5 separate regions of the Homo sapiens genome follow, and regions 1, 2, 3 and 4 are each linked to region 5. Evidence: promoter capture Hi-C in 16 types of primary human blood cells and fetal thymus (Javierre and others, 2016). All regions are on one chromosome and are shown on one strand. Each heading gives the region's core, a stretch centred on a gene start or on the middle of the fragment in contact. The rest is flanking DNA. Distances are from core to core; before and after follow the strand shown. Region 1 overlaps NOS2 (nitric oxide synthase 2). Region 2 holds the start of NOS2 (nitric oxide synthase 2). Region 3 has its middle 24 kb from the start of LINC01992. Region 4 has its middle 21 kb from the start of NOS2. Region 5 holds the start of LYRM9 (LYR motif containing 9).

Region 1 (2,770 bases), core at 10-2,509, 110 kb before region 5:
CAAGGTCAGGTGGGATTTCGAAGAGCTCAGGGTCACGGCCATTGGCCTGCAGGACCAGGGGGACCACATCGAAGCGGCCGTACTTGGGCTTCCAGCCCAGGTCGATGCACAGCTGGGGAACAAGACGGGCCCTGTGAGTCTGTAAGCCCGGGCTGCGTGTCTCCTCTGGGCTCCACTCTGTCACTCGCTCACCACGGGGCTCCCCGCCCCAATGGCCGGTGGCTGAGGCTGGGCCGGGTACCTGAGTGAATTCCACGTTGGCAGGGTCCCCTCTGATGCTGCCATCTGGCATCTGGTAGCCAGCATAGCGGATGAGCTGAGCATTCCACACCCGGAAGTCGTGCTTGCCATCACTCCGCTGGGGGAACACGGTGATGGCCGACCTTCCCAGGACAGGAACAGTACTGTTTACCACCTAGCCCTGGTGGGGGCCCAGCCATCCTGCACTGGCCCTACCTCCCTCTCCACCCTACCTGCTCTGCAGCCCCTGATCCCAAGCTGACTGAGCCAGCCTCCTGACATGCCTTCTCCTGCTGCCCTCCCTCAAGACCCAGGGTCCACCCCCTCAAGGGGGCCTTCCCATCCATCAGGCAGGGTTAGCTGATCTGCCAGTCTTTCCCTCACTGCCTATGTCTCCGTCCTTGCAGTTGAGTTAGCTGGTTGCCTGTCTAGTGCAGGTCATAGGCTCACACCAGCTGGAGCAGCATCTTAGGGTCCTAGTCACTCTTCCTCCTACCCCCCCATACCCCATCTTCCCCCTGCTCTCCCAGCCTTGTCCTGTGTTGAGTTGCATTAGGTAGGCACTGAGTGTTTGCTGAACAAAAAGATGAATGAATGACCAAATGAGCTGTTCAGTCCTATTAGCTTTGACCTCGTTGGTTGGGAGAGGAAGGTAACCTCTTAATGTCCCATGCCTTCTAAAAAATGGGAGCCCCAACCCTGAATAGTGAAGCAGTTACTTCTTAAAGATCCTCCATCCCCTCCAAGTGGCTCCACATCAGAAGGAAACCAAGGGCATGGGTTGCCGATGGGAGCTGAGCTCACAGGGGCTGGGCTCACTACTGGAAGTCCCCGAAGAAGCCTGAGTCTTTCTCTTTTTTCTTTCTCCCTGGTTTCTCCTGGAGCTGGAGATGCCTCCCCTAGACCCAAGTGCTGCATCTTTTGGCTAAGATTCTCAGGCAAGGCAAGCCCCTCTGCAGCCCTGGGAAATGTGCACCGACCTGATGTTGCCATTGTTGGTGGAGTAACGCACGTGTCTGCAGATGTGTTCAAACATTTCCCGGGCAGTGGAACAGCTGCGGGCATCGAAGACCTGCAACAGCCCATCCAGACCATGCCCATCAAAGACTGGGTAGACAGAGGCTTTGAGGCTGATCAGAAGTCACTGGGAATCAATAGTGCAGCCGAAACACTCAACACACAAACACTCAACACCATGCCGAAGAGTGCAGCCTCCAATCTGCACCTGCCACTCAACACCATGCAGAAGAATTCAGCCTCCCATCTGCACCACCGCTCCCATTTCATGGCTGCCCTCTAGGGGAGCACAGGCAACCCCACTCAGAAGACCCCAGCAAACCCAGAATTCCAAGAAAACCTGACTTGAAAGCACCATGAATCGGGATTGCCACAGCCCCAGGCTAGGTCCTTTCCCACACCAGCACATACTACACAGCCAGAGTTGGTTTCACTGGCAGTTCTAATCGATTTCTCTGTCCAAGTGCTTTTGATATTATCCTGCAACAAATGACTCCCCAACAAAAAGATGGCCTAGGAGGCTAGGCTAAATAAAATGTTCTCTTGGAGCCAAGAATTCAAGCATTGGAGGAAAACAACACATCTTGCAGCACCACGGCCTCAAGTGTAATAAAAACAAGGTCGTGGTTTACTCTAATGATGGCATTTAGTCTCCTGAATTTAACACAATAGAGAATGGGCAGCTAGAAACCCTGGTGCTGAAACAGGATTCAAGGCTTCTAGAGAGGGACCCTAGGTGCCCCATCTCAACATTTGGGAATGTAAGAGAGGATCCAGGGCCATGGCTTCAGTCCCAGGAGGCCTGGGCACAGCTCTGTGTGGCTGTTCCAAGCCATCTGCTCAGGGCCTGGCCGCCTCCAGCTCTCTCCCGCTCAAGTCTAAGGAAGTTCACCTGCAGGTTGGACCACTGGATCCTCCCAATGCAGCGTGGGGCATTGCGCCAGGCCTGCTTGGTGGCGAAGATGAGCTCATCTCCCGTCAGTTGGTAGGTTCCTGTTGTTTCTATCTCCTTTGTTACCGCTTCCACCCTGGCCAGATGTTCCTCTATTTTTGCCCTGGGGGACAGGAAGACAGCAGGAAGATCAACAATGAGATGGCCTTACATGGGGATTAATTCAATCCACAGAAGCAGGAACTGAAATAGGACATCAGAAGGGCAAGATGCCTCTCACCAGAGACAGCTCCCTCCAGGGCTGGCTTTGGGGACCTCACACTTAGCCTAGAAGCACCCCACGCTCAATGCTCTGCTGTCCCCATCTTGAAATTCTTAATCATTTTAAAATAAAGAGCCCACATTTTCATTTTTACATTGAGTCCTATAAATACTACCTAGCCAGTCCTGAGCCCATGGGAACACTGCTTATTTTCAGGTGCTTTTTCTTTAATCATATTCATCTCAGTAAGGGGTGCAATCCTTCTCAGACACTTGCAAGCCTGGGAGGAGTGTCCCATCCAGCCATAGCAATGTCCTGCCTCTCCATTAGTTAGTAGAGTGCCCTCCTTCCTTGCCATG
Region 2 (2,754 bases), core at 173-2,672, 93 kb before region 5:
CCCCCATCCCCATCGCCACTTAACAAGGACAAACTGTATGCACCATGAGCCTCCTTAGCGGGACCTGCTGGCCCACCAGACCCAGCCAGGCTTCATCACTGGCCACAGGCAGGGTGAGGAAGAGCCCGGAGGTCGTTGAAACAGGGGTGCCTTTGCCTGACCCTGAAAGACACTTCCCAGCAGCTCTCATTATCAACTGTAGTTTTAGGTCTATTACTGGGGAAAGCACTCAAGCTGTAGCTACCTTTCTTTTAAAGATTTTGCAGTTGTTGTTCTAACTCAGCATTATTACTTGCTCCTCTTTTATTATGTGGGGAGGAAATATTTGTGAAAAATGCACTCATCCCTCGAAATCTGAGATCATCTCCTTTGAAACAGACAAGAGGAAGATCAAAGAGGCAAAAACTCTGTCTTTAGAAGACAGTGTAGTGAATATAGTCCATGTAAGAATTTTAGGCCAAGTGCAGTGGCTCACGCCTGTAATCCCAGCATTTCGGGAGACCGAGGCAGGAGGATCGCTTGAGTCCAAGAGTTCGAGTTCAGCCTGGGCAACATAGGGAGACCTTGACTACAAAAAATTGAAAAATTAGCCAGGCAGGCATGGTGTCTTGTGCCTGTAGTCCCAGCTACTCGGGAGGCTGAGGCAGAAGGATTGCTTGAGGCTGGGCAGTCAAGGCTGTTTCCAAAAAAAAAAAAGAAAGAAAGGGAAGGGAAGGGAGGGGAAGGGAGGAAAGGACAGGAAGGAAAGGAAGGAAAGAGGGAAAGAAAGAAAAGAACTTATAGCCCCATAGACCTGGGTTCAAATCCTGGAATCCTAGCTCTACCAGTTATGTGTCCTGGATCAAGTTATTTAACTGAAACTCATTTATTCATCCATAAAATGGGTTTAATATATCCATCTTACCAGGATTTGTGGGGAGGTTACATGTTATAAGGACTGATAAGATAATCTCTGTTAAAAAAAATTCTTAGCAGATACAAACTCCCATTTTGAACTTTTCAGAAAGTTTTTCCTTGTCATGTAACAACCACAGCTAATATTTGCAGAAAAGAAATCTGACCAAGATGCCATGTTCAAATGACCAAACCTCATGTCGGCATTTTTTTACCTAGACTTTCCAACACCTTCTCTCTGTAGGCAGAAAATTCCCACAATTTTCTGAGCCTTCTCAAAGAGGAAGAAACAAAACCCTCTCAAAACAGCCGCTTCCCCAGAAATGAAGGCAACTCACCTTGCAGCTGGCTGCACTGCCTCCCCGGGGTAAGGACAGTCAAACCAGGAAGAGACCTGTGCCTTGAGAACTTCGGGACTGTCTAGAACTGCCCAGTCCCCTCATCAAAGGTGGCCGAGAGATTTTAAAGCAGGAATGAGGCTGAGTTCTCTGCGGCCGGAGCCTCAGTTTTCGACTCGCTACAAAGTTATGAACACACTGGCAGCCAAGAAGTATTTATACTCACCCCATGCCATCCAGAGAGTTGTTTTTGCATAAAGGTCTCTTTTTTTTTTTTTTTTTTTTGGTTTCCAAAGGGAGTGTCCCCAGCTTGTGTACAGTTAGCTAATTTATGACTGTGACTGCCAGGGCCTGTGGGTGACCTGATCTTGCTGTTACATCACTCTGTGTGGTGCCTCTTCACCCAACCCACCTCTTTCTGGTCCCAAGTCCAAGGTGGCAGTTCATCAGCAGGGTGGCTGCTAAGATAGAGGCACCACGGAGCCAGGTTTTATTTGGCCAAGCCACATGGCCTCACTTTCAGCATCTGGGAGATTTTTTCCTCAGCAGGGAGCTCTCTGGTTAATCCCTGTCCATCCTCTCACTTTTCCAGCTTGTGACAGGAGTCCAGGAAGCTGGGGGAATATTGACAGTATGGAACACACTGGAAAATGCCCAGGTTCCAGAAGGCCAGTGATATTAGATGATGCCATTATTCCAGACAGGCCTCTGAACTAGTCACTTGAGGTTTTTGGAAGGGAAAGGAAGGAAGGCTATTGGCACAGAGAGGCCTCTGAGATGTTGGTCTTACTAACACCTCATCCTTTAGCACTAGGTAAGCTTTGGTGGAATGGCAGGTAGGATTAAATTCCTTCCCTTATAATGGAAATGATCACTTCTTACATGAAAAAGTGGTAATTTCTTATAATTTCATTTCATTTATTTTATTTATTTATTTATTTTTGAGATGGAGTCTCATTCTGTCACCAAGACTGGAGCGGAGTGGCACGATCTCTGCTCATTGCAACTTCTGCCTCCCAGGCTCAAGCGATCCTCCCACCTCAGCCTCCTGAGTAGCTGGGACTACAGGCATGCACCACCACACCCAGCTAATATTTTTGTGTTTTTGGTAGAGACTGGGTTTCACCATGTTGTCCATGCTGGTCTCGAACTCTGAAGCTCAAGTGATCTGCCCACTTCAGCCTCTCAAAGTGCTAGGATTACAAGGGTTAGCCACCATGCCCGGCCTATAATTTCATTCCTTATAATGCCTGAAATACAGTATTCCCATACATATGCATTTTTCCATCATAAAAGTAAAATAACAACTACATTAGGGAGAAGTTGAGAAGCAAAGGGAAAAAAAGTCACCCTTGATCTCACCGTCCCAACACTTTGCTACCACTGTCCACTCATTTCCTTCTTGTCTTTCCCAAGTTAAATTCAGCATAATATATTAACTTTGTCAAAGATAAACTAAGAGCCACAAAAAAGACATGGATATCAGAGCTCAAGGATCTTTGTTGAGTGAATGTGTGGATGA
Region 3 (2,700 bases), core at 195-2,694, 120 kb after region 5:
TCCATTGATGGATATTTGGGCTGTTTCCACCTTTCAGCCATTGTAAATAGTGTTGTTGTGAACATGGATGTACATGTCTTTGAGTAGCAGACAAATACAGTCCTCATTTATACACTTCTTGGAATTGCTGGGTCATATGATAATTCTGTATTTAACATTTTAAGGAACCAACAAACTGTTTTCCACCATGGCTGAACCATTTTACATTCCCACCAGCGATATAAGAGGGTTCCAATTACTTCACATCCTGATCAACACTTACTATTATCTATCTTTTCTTAATTATAGCCCTCTTAGTAGGTGTCATGCCCTAATAACTAATGATGCTTAGTATTTTTATGTGCTTGTTGGCCATTTGTACATTCTCTTTGGAGAAATGTCTATTCAAGTTTTTTCCCATTTAAAAAAAATAATTATTTATTCTTAGAGCCTGGATCTTGCAATATTACCTGGTCTACACTTGAACTCCTAGGCTGAAGCAATTCTTCTCCTGAGTAGCTGGGGCTACAAGCACATGCGACCCTGCCCTGCACTTTTTGCCAACTTTAAAGTTGGGTTGTTTGTCTTTTTATTGTTGAGTTGTAAGAGTTCTTTATAGTCCAGATAGTAGACCCTTACCAAATATATAATTTACAAATATTTTTGACCATTCTGTAAGTTGTCATTTTACTTTCTAAAACTATCCTTTGAGGCACAAAATTTATTTGTTTATTGCTCATACTTTTGGTGTTCTATGTAAGAATTCATTGCCAAATCCGAGATCATGAAGATTTATCTTTGTTTTCTTCTAAGAGTTCTGTGGTTTTAACTCTTGTATTTATGTCATTAATGCATTTTAAGGTAATTTTTGCTTATGGTATGAAGTAGGTATCCAACTTAATTTTTTTGTATGTGGTTATCCAATTGTCCCAGCACCATTTGTTGAAGAGATTATTCTTTCTATATTGCATGGACTTGGTGTCCTTGTCAAAAATCAGCACCATAAACGTGTGAGTTTATTTCTGGACTTTCAATTCTCTTCTATATCTCTATCCTTATGCCAGTACCATACAGTTTTAATTAGTGTACCTTTGTAGTAAGTTTTGAAATTGGGAAGTATAACTCTTCCAACATTGTTCTTTTCCTTCAATATCATTTTGACTATTTGAGGTCCTTTGCAATTACATTTTAATCTGAGGATTGGCTTTTCCATTTCTGCAAAAAAGTCTTTAAAATTATGATAGGGATTGCATTGAGTATGTAAATCACTTCGGGCTTTACTGCCATCTAAATAATATTAAGTCTCCAACCTATGAACAAGGAATGTCTTTCCGTTTCTATAGGTCTTCCTTAAATTTTTTCAGCAATGCTTTTATAGTTTTCAGTGTACAAGTCTTTCATCACCTTGGTTAAACTTATTCCTGGGCATTATATATCTGGGGAGAATGCTAAAAAGGATCATTCTTACTGGTGTGCAGAGAAGAGTCCTCACAGGAGAAAGGTTAAAAGCAGCAAGATGCATTGTATATTCCTGGTGAGAGATGATGATGCCTTGGGCAATAGGGTAGTCTCAGGAATGGCAAGAAGAGGTTGAATTCAGGATAACTTTGGAAGGTACAGCCAAAAGACAAGATTGACTGAGATATGGGAAAATTCTGAGTCAAGGATCACTTCAAGGTTTTTGACCTAAGTAATTGGTGAATGATGGTGTCATTTACTGAGATGGAGAACACTGGACAAGGCACAAGGGAAAAAAGAACTTAATTTGGACAAATCGAGTTTGAATTGTCTGTTAGAGATGGTTATTGTTTACCACAATTTATAATTGCATATCCATTTGTTTATTTGTTTATTGTTATTATTTATAGTTTCAATGGCTAGAAATGTTTACTTTATTAACTGTTGTGTCCCTCAGTAGACAGCAAACTCCATGAGGGTAAGAACCAAATCTGTCTATTAACTGTTGTATCCTCATGCCTAACACAATGCCTGGCACATAGTAAGTTATCACTAAATATTTTTTAACAAATCAAAATGCAAGGCCAGCCAGACATAGTGGGTGTGTCTGTAGTCCCAGCTACTCAGGAGGCTGAGATGGGAGGATCATCTGAGCCTGGGAGGTCAAGGCTGCCAAGATTATGCCACTGCAGTCCAGCCTGGGCAACAGAGTGAGAACCTGAAAAAAAAAAAAAAGCCAGGCCAGGTCCAGGTGGTTTTTCCTATATTCCTGATTTATAATATTACCTTCAGGTGTACATCCTTGTTCTTTACTTACTACTGCATTTCCAGTACTTTTTATTTTTGTAAGAAGTGAGGTTCCTTTATTCAAAATTTGACAAATCATGAAATGCCTCTCACCCCATCTCCTTACTCCTTACACTTTACCTTTCCATCCATGTAATCTCTGGCACAATGTCATGACTTAACAAATGCCAAGAAATGTAAGAAGAAAAGACCTAGTACTTCTCAATAACAATAGCTAATATGTATTGAGTGCCAATTATGTGTCAGGCACGGTGTAAAATGCTCTGTATCATCTCATCCAATGTTTCTAACAAATGTATCAGCACAAAGCCTGAAGCGTTGTTGCATCTTTTCAGTTTTAGGGTCATATTCTTTGGAATATGAGTTTGTCCGTGTAGCCAAAGGGAACAGTTGAGATGGGTACATTAATTTACCTAAGTGAGTATATATAAATGTCATTTTTTAAAAAGATGCTGG
Region 4 (2,700 bases), core at 125-2,624, 72 kb before region 5:
AACTACTAAGACAATAGCACAAAATGTGTGCATAATATGTTCACCAAACACAGTGCAGCACTAATCATTGCATCCCAGACTGGAAATAACCCAGATACCCATAACAGGAGAATGGGTAACTGAATACATAGTGCTTTATTCATAATTATTTCTAATTCTCATCATAACTCATTCTTCCATGTCGTATATTCATGATTATTTATAACAAAATATTGTACAGCAGAGATTGGTGAACTGTGACCCACAGGCCAAACTGTAGCCTACTTTTTGTTTGTGTGTTGCTTATTACTGCATTTGAGCTATGATGGCAGGGTTGAATAGTTGTGACAGAGACTATAGCTTTCATAACCAAAGGTATTTATTATCTGGTTCTTTGCAGAAATAGTTTGCTGACCGCTGGTAAACAGCAATGAAAAAGACAGACTCTCTATTATGTGCAAAAACATGGATGGATCTCACAGACATAATGTGGGGTAAAAGAAGCCAAATATGGTTGGGCATGGTGGCTCGTGCCTGTCATCCCAGCATTTTGGGGGGCCAAGGCAGGAGAATCACTTGAACACAGGAGGTGTAGGTTGCAGTGAGCTGAGATTGTGCCACTGCACTCCAGCCTGGGAGACAGAGTGAGACTCTGCCTCAAAAAATAAGAAGCCAAATACAAAAGAGTACAGCCCGTGTGATTCCATTTACACAAAGTCCAAAAACAAACAAAATTAATCCATGGTGATAGAGGTCAGAATAGTAGTTACAGTAGTGGCAGGGAGGTATGAGGAAGGGGCTCAAGGAAGCCTATGCTGTAGATCTTGATGGGGGCAGTGGTTCAACAGGAGTATAATTATGTCAAAATCAATCAAGCTGCACAATTAGATTTTGTGCACTGCATATCACTTCTACCCTAATTTTTGAAAAGGGGATCAATTGCTGGCCTCCAAGCAGGGCCTGCCACATGCAAAGCAGAGTGATGCAGTTTCCTCCTTCACCCCAGAGATTGGACGCAGTAATAGTAGGGCCATGTCACAGTCCCTTTCTGAATAGAGCACCCCCAGATGGTGGCTTTCCTACCCACAGGCCACCACGTATAATACCACTTGACCCCATCAACCTGGCTCCAAATTCCTGGATCCAGCTGATGGTGCCAAAGCCAACCTTCCATGTCTGGTCCTCAAACTTTAGTCCACTTACAAACCACCTGGGGGCTTGCTAGCAACACCGATTCCAGGTCCCTCTTCTCCCAATTCCTAGTTTTTTTGAGTCCTGGGTGGGATCCAGGAAACTGCATTGTCAGCAAGTCCTGCAGGTGATTTTGATGCAGATGGACCAGAGACTACACTGGAGAAACGCTCTGTGCAGGCTGAGGGAGTGGGCATGAGGAGGCAAAGGGGAGAAGGCAAGAGGGTGAAATTGCTCTTGACCAGAAAGGGAAGCAGGAGAGAGCTAAGAGGAAGATGTAGCGGAAGAGGAGGTGAGTGAGGCTGAGGGAGAGCAGGCGATGAGGTGGCCTTGATGAAGTCTGGCCATGTGGTGTGTCATGGAAAACCTGTTTCCTACCTCTCCACCAAAGAGTTGGTAAAATATCTGTTTATCAAGGGAACCACCCCCAATATTTCAACGTAAGTTCTCTTCTATTTCCCTAAGTGTCAGCCAGTCTGAGAAATAAAGGGAAAGAGTACAAAAGAGAGAAATTTTAAAGCTGGGTGTCCAGGGGAGACATCACATGTCGGCAGGTTCTGTGATGGCCCCCAGGCCGCAAAACCATTAAGTTTTTATTAGTGATTTTCAAAGGGGAGGGAGTGTATGAATAGGGTGTGGGTCACAGAGATCACATGCTTCACAAGGCAATAAAATATCATAAGGCAAATGGGGGCAGAGCGAGATCACAGGACCAGGGCAAAATTTAAATTGCTAATGAAGTTTTGGGCACGCATTGTCATTGATAACACCTTATCAGGAGACAGCGCTTGAGAGCAGACAACCAGTCTGACTAAAATTTACTAGGCAGGAATTTCCTCGTCCTAATAGGCCTGGGAGCGCTACGGGAGACCGGGGCTTATTTCATCGCTTATCCACAACCGTATAAGACAGACATTCCTAGAGCAGCCATTTTAGAGACCTCCCCCTAGGAATGTGTCTCTTTCTCAGGGCTGTTCCTTGCTGAGAAAAAGAATTCAGCGATATTTCTCCTATTCGCTTTTGTAAGAAGAGAAATATGGCTCTGTTCTGCCTGGCTCTCAGGCAGTCAGACCTAATGGTTATCTCCCTTGTTCCCTGAGCATCGCTGTTATCCTGTTCTTTTTTCAAGGTGCCCAGATTTCATATTGTTTAAACACACATGCTTTATGAACAATTTGTGAAGTTAACGCAATCATCACAGGGTCCCGAGGCAACATACATCCTCAGCTTACGAAGATGATGGGATTAAAAGATTAAAGTAAAGACAGGCATAGGAAATCACAAGAGTATTGATTGGGGAAGTGATAAATGTCCATGAAATCTTTGCAATTTTTGTTCAGAGATTGCAGTAAAGACAGGTGTAAAAAATTATAAAAGTATTAATTCGAGGAACTAATAAATGTCCATGAAATCTTCACAATTTATGTTCTTTTGCCATGGCTTCAGCCAGTCCCTCTGTTCAGGGTCCCTGACTTCCCACAACATCTGTTTCTTATTAATATGCTATGAGGTTGGCATTTGCAGGGTGTG
Region 5 (2,700 bases), core at 157-2,656:
TCTCACTCTGTCACCCAGGCTGGAGTACAGTAGCATGATCAGGGATCACTGCAGTCACAACTGCCCGGGCTCAAACGATTCTACCTCAGCCTCTCAAGTGGCCGGGATCACAGGCACACGCCACCACGTCTGGCTAATTTTTTTAATTATTTATAGAAACGAAGTCTTACTATGTTGCCCAGGCTGGTCTCAAAATTCTAGGCTCAAGTGATCCTCTTTCCTCAGCCTCCTACGGTGCTGAGATTATGGGCATGAGCCACTGCGCCCAGCGTTGAACATCTTACCCTTTCCTACTTTATTTGGCTTTCTGTTCCTTGCTGACTGTAAGCTTCTGAAGAACAAGAAACTATACTGTATTAGTTCAACACCTGTGAAATGAAGGGAAATTAGTAAGAAAAATATATATACGGTTATTAGTCACTCCTCCACAGTTTATAGTACCTGAACCATAACAGAAGTTCCATAGATGTCAATTGATTCCCAAGTTACCAGAGGAAACTAAAGCCAGCAGGAAACTGTCCTGAAGTCAAGAACCTATGGCAGGTGAACCCAGAAAACATTACGCTAAGTGAACAAACCCAGTCACAAGGGGCTACTTAATGTATGATTCCATTTATACGAAACATCCAGAATAGGCAAAAGTACAGAGACAGAAGTACATTGGTGGTTGCCTAGGGCTGGGAGAATGGGAGTAGATGGGAGGGGGGAGTGACAGCTAAAGGAGGTGTTTCTTTTGGGGGGTAATGTTCTAAAACATTATGGTGACAGCTGCACAACTCTGCAAACACACTAAAAGACACTGAATTGTGCACTTTAGATGGGTGAACTGTATGCTTCGTGAATTATATCTCAATAAAACTTTTTAAAACAATAACCACAAAAAGGATCAATCCTAGGAGCGAAAGGGTTTTGGCCACGGAGCAACTTGCTCTTACGCAGAAGCATAAATCATCACGACAAGGTTGCTCCGGCCACCGGGTGCCGCGGGCAGAGGGACGGTGGAGGGGACATTCTCCTTTTAAAAGTGGCCAGGCCCGTGAGCCTCTGAGAGGCTGGCCTCCGGGCTGCCCCGGACCTCGCGCCCCTAGCTCGCGCTGCAGGCCTTTCCTGCTCCTCCGAGGCCGCCCGGCCAGGCCTGCGTCAAGCCCGGGCGCCGCGCTCCGGTGCACTCAGCTCTCCGGTGGAAGAGCGCAGACCGCAAGGGAAAAGGTGCCGGCGCGGGTCGCCCCTAGGTCTTCAATAGATCCGAGGACACCCGAGGCCTCCACATCCCTAGCCCGCCCCCGCCACCCAGTGGCTCCGGCCGCCGCTGCCCCCGCGCCCCCGCCCTCGGCCTCGGCCTGCGCAGCGCGGCTCACCAGCCTCCAGGGGAACGCCAGCCCCGGACGCCGCCGCGGCGACGAGTGCGCCTGCGCCCCGGGGACTGAGCGGCACCGCCCCTGCCCGGCGACGGTGAGCCCAGCGCCCTCTGCCGGCCGCGCGCGGGACTCGGGGTCCTACTGGGTGCCTCTTCCTAGATCCGACCCCACCCAGTTGAAAGCTGTCCCCACTAACAGCCTTCGTTACCTGTTACCTCAAACACCCACTCTGCCTTCTGGCTGTTGCTACGCCGGATATAAGCCCTAAAGGCACTCTCTCCTCCTTATTCCTGAATATGGATTGTGCTATGAATATGGGGTGTTCAAGATCTCTGAAAGGCTTGCTGGAGGACTTTTCCTGAACCTCTCGTGTTGATGACAAGAATTGTGTTTGGATAGGAATCTGCGTTTTGAATCATTTCACCAAATTACAGTCCCATAACACCTGTCAAAAGAATAAATATGACAGTAATAAGCATGCTTCCTTTCAGACCCATCTATAATTATAATTGAGGAAAATAATACAAAATTTAAACTTAGAGCTACTGCCAGTATCATTCTTTGAAAATGAAATAATGCTGTTTATTAAATAGGCTCTCCCTGCTCTCTAATGTTTAAAGCTCAAGTGCTTCTCTGAATTGATTTAAATACAAGTTTTATATCCTGAAAGAAATCAAGATGAGTCATTATCTTAAGACAAACCCCCCTGTTCAATGATGCTGCTGATCTCTCAGCTGATGTCTAAGCGGGAGTTAGGTTGTTAGTGGATAATATTGCTTCTGTTCACGTCTCTCTTCTCCAGGGCTTTTTAAACCTGTTTGTAACGAAAAGGCTGATTTCCTTCAGACTCCATGTGTCGTTGATTTAACAGGACAACTTCTTACAGGTTTTTCTTTTTCCTTTTTCTTTTTTTTTTTTTAAGTAAAACATTGCTCCCCGGTGGCACCTGGGAATCTGTTTTTCTTCTCTTAGGATAAGAGAAGCAGGGATATTTCTTAACGGAAGTTTTGTTTTGTTCCTAACTCCCTTTAGAGCTTCCTCTTTTCTTTTTTTTTCTCTTCACCTAACATACTAGACTTCCCTCAAATCGGGGGTGGGGGATGGGAAGGTGGGGTTCCCTCCCTTGAAATATTCAGATAATTGCTTCCATTTATTTTAAAGATGTAGACTTGGACAAATATATCTGAAAGATACAATTGTACCCTCATAAATCAGCCCTCTTATTTACACATGCATAATCAAGGGCACGTCATTAATGCAGAGCCAATCAATAAATCATTAAGCTTTTAAAGCCCTTATTAAGAACAATCTGCAGTAACATCATCCACTCCTGTGCTCAGTC

Evidence for each region. The method cuts DNA at HindIII sites, captures the fragments that hold promoters and counts their contacts. A CHiCAGO score of 5 or more calls a contact.
Region 1: a fragment that was not itself captured here is called in contact with the fragment with the promoter of LYRM9 in region 5 in 3 of 17 cell types (activated CD4 T cells, M2 macrophages and total CD4 T cells); the score reaches 5.3 in activated CD4 T cells.
Region 2: a contact is called between the fragment with the promoter of NOS2 here and the fragment with the promoter of LYRM9 in region 5, in 10 of 17 cell types (naive CD4 T cells, total CD8 T cells, non-activated CD4 T cells and 7 more). The highest score is 13.1, in naive CD4 T cells.
Region 3: a fragment that was not itself captured here is called in contact with the fragment with the promoter of LYRM9 in region 5 in 2 of 17 cell types (megakaryocytes and M2 macrophages); the score reaches 6.2 in megakaryocytes.
Region 4: a fragment that was not itself captured here is called in contact with the fragment with the promoter of LYRM9 in region 5 in 1 of 17 cell types (non-activated CD4 T cells); the score reaches 5.2 in non-activated CD4 T cells.

What each region holds. Positions count from the first base shown.
Region 1 is chr17:27,780,795-27,783,564 of GRCh38, forward strand. NOS2 (nitric oxide synthase 2) reads right to left here. Exons shown (of 27, transcript NM_000625.4): 6 at 2,150-2,312; 7 at 1,221-1,312; 8 at 242-383; 9 at 1-112. Among named protein-coding and RNA genes, the nearest start is that of NOS2, 18 kb to the right of the region's middle. RefSeq lists an enhancer at 2,213-2,712. The HindIII fragment of the contact is 4,802 bases long and covers 1-2,770 here.
Region 2 is chr17:27,799,107-27,801,860 of GRCh38, forward strand. NOS2 (nitric oxide synthase 2) reads right to left here and starts at 1,423. Exons shown (of 27, transcript NM_000625.4): 1 at 1,233-1,423. RefSeq lists promoters at 1,256-2,754, 1,336-2,453, 1,336-1,628, 1,387-2,754, an enhancer at 1,597-1,625 and a cis regulatory region at 1,938-1,960. The HindIII fragment of the contact is 2,695 bases long and covers 1-2,049 here.
Region 3 is chr17:28,014,732-28,017,431 of GRCh38, forward strand. No RefSeq gene overlaps it. Among named protein-coding and RNA genes, the nearest start is that of LINC01992, 24 kb to the left of the region's middle. The HindIII fragment of the contact is 4,504 bases long and covers 1-2,700 here.
Region 4 is chr17:27,820,237-27,822,936 of GRCh38, forward strand. No RefSeq gene overlaps it. Among named protein-coding and RNA genes, the nearest start is that of NOS2, 21 kb to the left of the region's middle. The HindIII fragment of the contact is 4,429 bases long and covers 1-2,700 here.
Region 5 is chr17:27,891,959-27,894,658 of GRCh38, forward strand. LYRM9 (LYR motif containing 9) reads right to left here and starts at 1,407. Exons shown (of 4, transcript NM_001076680.3): 1 at 1,359-1,407. RefSeq lists a silencer at 1,039-1,588. The HindIII fragment of the contact is 2,313 bases long and covers 327-2,639 here.